2 separate regions of the Homo sapiens genome follow, and region 2 is linked to region 1. The links are contacts of gene promoters, found by promoter capture Hi-C in blood cells and fetal thymus (Javierre and others, 2016). All regions are on one chromosome and are shown on one strand. Each heading gives the region's core, a stretch centred on a gene start or on the middle of the fragment in contact. The rest is flanking DNA. Distances are from core to core; before and after follow the strand shown. Region 1 holds the start of MITF (melanocyte inducing transcription factor). Region 2 overlaps MITF (melanocyte inducing transcription factor).

What was found. The method cuts DNA at HindIII sites, captures the fragments that hold promoters and counts their contacts. A CHiCAGO score of 5 or more calls a contact.
Region 2: a fragment that was not itself captured here is called in contact with the fragment with the promoter of MITF in region 1 in 1 of 17 cell types (M2 macrophages); the score reaches 5.1 in M2 macrophages.

The regions. Positions count from the first base shown.
Region 1 is chr3:69,737,700-69,741,341 of GRCh38, forward strand. It overlaps MITF (melanocyte inducing transcription factor), which reads left to right and starts at 1,765. Exons shown (of 10, transcript NM_001354604.2): 1 at 1,765-2,002. The coding sequence starts at 1,899. RefSeq lists a promoter at 1-1,901 and a silencer at 1,701-2,000. The HindIII fragment of the contact is 10,451 bases long and covers 1-3,642 here.
Region 2 is chr3:69,819,975-69,823,616 of GRCh38, forward strand. The region is part of intron 1 of MITF (melanocyte inducing transcription factor); the gene reads left to right. Among named protein-coding and RNA genes, the nearest start is that of MITF, 82 kb to the left of the region's middle. The HindIII fragment of the contact is 934 bases long and covers 1,417-2,350 here.

The sequences.
Region 1 (3,642 bases), core at 515-3,014:
GAGAGCCCAGATGAGATTAGAAGTCTAGACTGCATGTTTCCTTCATGTTTGATCTTTCTTCTTTCTCTCCCAGAGAACATGAAGGAAACACGTTTTCTTTGTTTGCTTTTGACAGCTAATTTCCAGCAGTCCATCTATTAAGGAATCTAGGATCCCACTTTTATGAGCACAAAACTCCCACTTTCCTTAGGGGTGTTCTCAGGTATTCTGACATAGTTTAATAGTTTCAGGGGAGGGCCTAAAAGTCGTATGTTGGGGACTAATTTTTATTCTGAAAATTTGGTAATTGCTACTGCAACATAGTGTGCCTTCTGCACTTTTTCCAAATCACCTTGAGAACTCCAGCCCTAACATCGATCCATCCTACTGGATGTCTTTTCTGATGTGAAATTAAAATGTTTCAGTGGGAGGCAAGATATGCAAAGGGGTAACTCCTGGGAGGTGCCCAGTTGTCACTGTAGCCTCTTTAGAATTTTCTCCTAGGACAGTCATTTAGTTTATTAATTCTGAAAGGCCAAACACCAAAATGAGATGTTAATCTGAAAGGAATAACTTCAAGACCTAATAAAGAATGACCACTGAGCAGAGTTTTTATAGATTGCAAATCACTTTCTCTTACATTTGACCTTGCAACATCTTCTAAAACTGGTTTGCCAATCTCTTCTTTTATGGATGAAGAAATGGAGGCTTCTAGGAACCAAGTGACATGCTCAGGATTGCACAGCTCTTCTTAGAAGGACTGGGGATTTCAACTCTGAGTCTTATACCTTTAAATGCCACTGTAACTCTATACTGCCTCCCTGATGCCTCAAAACACTTTTGAAAAGAAGGAACACGTCCTACTGGAGCTAATCAGAGGGAAGAACTAGAAGTACAAATGAGCCACAACGGAGAGTTTTAAAATTCTCTTCCCTAAGTGAGTTCCGGGAAGCTCGGGAAGGGGTGGACACTTGTACAGTTCACTTGTACATCTTCACTCCTGAAATGCTAGGACAAATCTCATTTGAACTCCCAGTCAACTGAGAAATTAAAAGCAGAGAGCAACGACGCTATTTTGTAACTTTGTGCCTTTTAAAATTAACCGAATCTTTCAATTGCTGCTGTAGATTAGAAGTGGCTACTTGGATAAAGGGGAAAGAGCCATTCAACTGATGAATACTATTGTAAAAGTCCAGACTTAGTTCTAGAAAAGGAACGCACAAGAACAATTTCTCCAATAACGTTTTCATTACAGAGCGAAGGAAAGTTCTTCCTCGTTGTTCCAATCCGAGGACAAGCTGATATGTCGCAGCAGCCCAGGGAAGCATGCGAGCTGATAGGAAGTCCTTTTATTTTAAGACAGGCTCGAATGCTAAAACTTTCTTGTGCCAAAACCCTTGACTATTTTATTTTTAAAATAAGCACTTGGCGTGCCCTCGCAGATGTCTGAGCTGAGAGGTCGGGGCGATGGTAGAAGAGCAGTCAGTGTCCATTCTTATTCATATTAAGTAGCCAAGTCTGTACCCTTGAAGCAAGTGGGGAGAGAGGAGGGAGAGGAGCTGCTGACATTGACAATGAATCCAAACAGGAGTTGCACTAGCGGTGTCCACCACGTTGCCTCTCCCCCGCCTGGCCTTCTGGGAGCTGTAGTTTTCGTGGGAGCGGCTCCCCAGGCGAGCTGGGAATGCCCCGCCCGGGCCGAACTACAGATCCCAGGCGGCGCTCGGCCGCCAGCCCCTCCCGCCCGGGTGCGAGTGTAAACTCCCCGCGCTGGGGCGGGCGGCCGCGAGCCGGCGAGCGGGCAGAGCTCGGCACTGCGCCGGGGCGCACGGCTCGGGGGACCCAGGCCCAGCTACCTTCCCTCCGCCCCCGGGCTCTGTTCTCACTTTCCAGCAGTGGAAGGACGGGAAGCGGGAGCCATGCAGTCCGAATCGGGGATCGTGCCGGATTTCGAAGTCGGGGAGGAGTTTCATGAAGAGCCCAAAACCTATTACGAACTCAAAAGTCAACCGCTGAAGAGCAGGTGAGTGGTGACAGCTGGGCAGAGGCGCACCGGGCGGCTGGGGGGCACTGCGTCTGCCACTCTGGGGCGAGGAGAGCGGGTCGCGGGAGCTCTGGGACAAGGACCCAGTGCCCTTGCCCCGGAGCAGAGGGCGAACTGCCCCTCGCAGTTGGGGGCCGCGCCTGCCCGGCCCAAGTGCGCCTTTAGGAAGCTCGGATGGAGCGCACTTCGCGGGGGCGCGGCGGGTCGCCGGGGACGAAGCGTCCAGGCGCGGGGACCCTCGGCCGAGGATGCCAGCTGCTGAGACTGATTGGGGGCTGGGGAGCGACCTGGCGCGATGTGGGGGAGGAGGAGCGCCGGGCCGGGACGCTGTCCCGGTGGGATGGGGGAGAAAGAGTTCTAGTGAACCCCCTTTCTGAAGATCCCAGCGGGTTGAGGGCTCGGAGAGGGAGAGCTTTGGGTGGACTGAGATGCGACATTGGAGGGAAGCAATTAGTTCGCTTGGAGTCACCTCTTGGGAGTCCGGTCTCTGTGGGGAAACTAGCCTCTGGGCTCCTGCAGGTGAGGTTTCTCTGGGCTCCGCCTCTCACCTCCAGACCGCTGCTAGCGGGCGCGGGAGGGGCCAGGGCAGCGGTGGGCGTGTCCCCTTGTTCAAGTTAAACTCTCTGGAAATAGAGTCCCATTCAAATCCAGGCCTTACCTGCAGAGGGGAAATGAGCCTTGGTCTTGGGGGTTACTGGGAGTGTACCCCGCTTGGCAGAGACACGTGTTTAATTCGCTGGGGACTTCAGAAACTTTTTAGACGAGGAGTGAAGACATCCACTGCTCTGATGCCCCATCCCCTCTAGTGCCCACTTCCCTTGAGCCACCCTTTTTGCTGCCTCCATTCCCACTTGTCTGTCGAAATGGATTGGGTGTCTTCCGTTCTCTCTGTCCGGCAGCCACTCTGGACGCCTCGTACTTCTCGTTTACAATGTTTCCTAAAAGGGACATGGTCAATGGAGGCTGGAATAGCTGAGAAGGGTTTATTTCCACCCCTCTAAGCTGTGAGCTAGGATAAGGCTATCATTGGAAGCATCCAGCAGGGCTTCTGCACTCGGCTGTAACTTCCTGCCTTGCCCTTCGCTGTGGATGGGGCCTGGGTGAATGGGCCTGGCTGGCAGAGTGGGAGAGGGTCTTGAAATGAGGGTGAGTGGAGAAGGGCAACTGAACGGGGAGCCAAGTGGTGTAATCTTGGCCTCTGGCGAGCACTGGGCTGGTTCTTTTTCTAGTGGAAAGTGCAGCCAGGTTTATTTCCTTCAGGGCTGTGGCAGGACTCTTTATCCAAGTTGGGGAAGAAAATCTGGGAACAGCGGTCCTACTGACTGCCATTGCTGAAGACTCTTTGTAGATGCTTCACGGCAGATTGGAAGGAAACCGCCTAAGCAGTTGGACGTATAAAACCAGCCTTTAGTTGGTGGTTTTTCCTCATAATGGCTGTTTTGTGTGTGAGCATAGATTGTGTGTGTTGGGGGCTGGGGGTTTTGAGTAATATTGTGTGAAGGGTATTGTTGGTTATGCTCATCAGGGCTTTATCTGCATTCGGCTGAAGGGACCAGTGTTTTACTGGGCAGTCTCTGCTTTTGCTTCTATAAGCAAATGCTTACACGGCCAGAATGAGG
Region 2 (3,642 bases), core at 634-3,133, 82 kb after region 1:
AAACAAACAAAAACATAAAAGCTAGAGTTAGAGCATTGATGTCCAATGTGGTAGCTATTGAACCCTTGAAATGTGGCTAGCCCAAATTGAGACGTACTGTATGTGTGAAATGCACACCAGACCTCATAGATTTCATATGAAAAAGGAAAGTAAAATATCTTGTTAACAATTTTTAATATAGATTCGTTTTGAATTATGTTTTGGGTAAATAAGGTAGTAAAATTGACTTCACGTGCTTCATTTTGTTTTTCTTTTTAATGTGGCTACTAGAAAATTGAAATATACATGTGTGGCTCATTTTGTATTTCTATTAGACGGTGCTGCTTTTGAGAGAAACTTTACCAGGGATGTTCATGGAACTCTGTCCAAGTTACACTTTGATGTGACTCTTTACTCTGGAGTAGATCAGATATGGAATCCAAACCTTGGAATTTCTAAGTTAGCTTCTTAGTAACTTACAGTTTAAATGTAGCAATGAAAACAAGAGTAGGATTTTTTTTTTTCAGTTGTAAAAGAAATTTCTAGAAACTAAGAGCTTTACAGAGCTTAAAATTTATTCTCATTGTTTTATTTTTAAACTCTAAGTTTCTGCCAGGACAAAAATGTTCAGTTCTTTTTGGATTCTGATGGCCTGGTAAAACTTCTTTGTAAACCTAGGGGATGTGATAGAATTGGCACAGGAGAAAATTAATTTGGTTGGGATCCATGAATGGAATGGAGGTGATGTGCAGGCCTTGCAGTCTGTTGTAATCAATCATTATAGAAGTTTTGCTGCGATGCTGGCCTGCCCAACACTCTGCACTTTGGGCAACATCGTGAAAAGATATCTTCCTGTAGATCCCTGCTCTGGTGCAATACAAGTGTCAACATAGAAATAGAATGTGTGTTATTATAGGCCACATATATACACATTCAATAAAATGTCTCAGCATTTACTCGTGTGTGTGTGTGTGTGTATGTGTCTGTGTGTGTGTTCTGGAAAAAAGTTAAATGAGATTTTCCACAACTTTTTAAAAAAATTTCAGCCTCGTTGTAGGATATTTTCCAAACCCACATTTTCCAGCAATTTGAGCCCCAAACTTATAGCAATGAGGCACTTTCTTGACAAAGGTGAGTCAAAAACAGGAACCCTTTGATTCTGTTTGTCACATGATGCTGGATGTTATAAAATAATAATAGCAAGGAGTTCATTTCTTTCCCTTTGATCGTCAGACTTTTAGCTGCTTCACTTCCATTGCTAAAGCCAGGAATTCAGAAGTGTAGGTCAGATGCTGTGCGTAGAAAATGCATTTGGGAGCATACACATTAAATGGGTTATAAATAGTATCTGCCCTGACAATGCTGGAATTTTCTCAGCTTTTAGAGACATTGAAGTCTTTGTTTTGTGGGTTGCTGCCCTCCACCCCCAACCCCCTAAGCTTGAGTCATAAAGCCTGAAAAACTAATGAGGTTGCTGAAACTTAAAATCTAATTGGTAGGATGTATGGAAAACAATGAGAGATGGCAGAAACCGTACACTTCGATTCAAGTTGGCTTCTCTGTTGCAGCATTGCAACTTGCTCACTTTGCATTTTATTGTTCCAGGTCCTTGAATTAATTTTTTCCTTCAATAGGATCAAATTAGACCTAGATTTAAAAAAAACTCATAAGTAGATAACCATCAAGGCTAATATTAGGATCCTAAAGTCTTCATTTAGAAAAGGAAAAAAAAAAACTAAAAAAAAAAAAAAAAGCAAAAGTTCAAACGGGATTTTCTTTTTAATTTTAAAATTTTATTTTATTATGCTTTTTGAGACTGAGTCTCACTTACTCTGTTGCCCAGACTGGAGTGCAGCGACGTGATCTCGGCTCACTGCAACCTCTGTCTCAGGGGTTCTTGTGCCTCAGCCTCCCGAGTAGCTGGGATTACAGGCACATGCCACTATGCCTGGCTAATTTCTGTATTTTTAGTAGAGATGGGGTTTCGCCATGTTGGCCAGGCTGGTCTAGAACGCCTGGGCTCAAGTGTTCCACCCGCCTTGGCCTCTCAAAGTGGTGGGATTACAGGCATGAGCCACCATGCCCAGCCCAAACTGGATTTTCTTGATAGTCTCTCTCTCTCAGAAATATTTTGCTCTTATCTTCTGAGTTTATAGATGATATTTTACAACAAAGGTCTACAAACTATAAACCACACCTGGCCTGTCAGCATCTTCATGGATGCCCCTACAATTAAGAATGATTTTCACATTGAATGTTTTTCCCCCCAGCCGTTTAATGTTGAAAAAACAAACAGAGAAAGAACATGTGGTAGACATCATACCTGGCCCACCAACCCTGCAATATTTGCTATCTGGCCCTTTACCTACAAAGCTTGCTGGCCCCTGGTTTAGAATGTGCTTGCTGTGTCACCCTTGCTATTAGATATGTAATCAGATAAAAAGTTTCTTTCTTGGATTTTGTTAATTCACCCATTGAATATTTCTGGAGTATTTATTCCATTCCTGGCACTGTCATAGGCACTGGGGAAATGAAGTGTAAAAAGTCACACCAAAACACAGACTAAAGGGCATATTTCAAAAGTGACAGAGCTTGCATTCCTGTCGAGAGAAAAAGACCAAACCTAACCAACCCGAACAGAAACAAGAAATGAAAAACTTAATTACCAGGAAAATAAACCAGCTGAGTATGAGATAGATAATAACAGCAATTTCTGTGCTTCCCCCCTTGAACTGCACTATGGAATGGTGACTAAGTTATTTCCCACATTTTGAATTCACCCACCCACATACAAACACCAAATACTTGCTTGCTTTCCCCAAGTCATTTCCTCATTTTTAATTTTATTTTTTTCCTAAAGTCTTTTTGCCCCAGCTGAAATTCATTACTCAACCCCGTCTTATTGAGTACTTTAGTTTGGTGTTTCCAAGGTTTATTTATTTGGTGTTTGTTTTTTTTTTTTTCTTGAAAGAGTCTCACTCTGTCACCCAGGGTGAGTACAGTGGTGCAATCTCGGCTCACTGCAAGCAATTTTCCTGCTTCAGCCTTCTGAGTAGCTGGGATTACAGGTGCATGCCACCACGCCTGGCTAATTTTGGTATTTTTAGTAAAGATGGGGTTTTGCCATGTTGGCCAGGCTGGTCTCGAACTCCTGACCTCAGGTGATCTGCCCACCTCTGCCTCCCAAAGTGCTGGGATTATGGACATGAACCGCTGCACTCGGCCTCATCCTTTTTTTAAATTAGCTTTTCTGTGTCTTTAGACTTAAGGCTTGTTGCTTGTATGCAGCATATAGTTGGATTTTGATCCTTACTCTTTGTCTTAGCAGCTCAGGCTGCTATCATGAAATACCATAGACTGGTAGCTTACACAACATATTTATTTTTCACGGTTCTGAAGGCTAGGAAGTTCAGATCAAGGTGCTGGCAGATTTGATTCCTGATAAGAAGGTCTCTTTCTGTCTGGCAGATGGCTGCTTTCTCACTGTATCCCCAGAGAGCCAAAGAAGCTCTCTGGTGTCTCTTCTAATAAGGGCACTAATGCCATCCTGGGGGCCCCATTCTCATGACCTCATCTAAACTCAATTACCTCCCAAAGGCCCCACCACCGAATATCATCATATTAAGATTAGGGCTTCAACATATGAAGACAACAGTCTTTTAT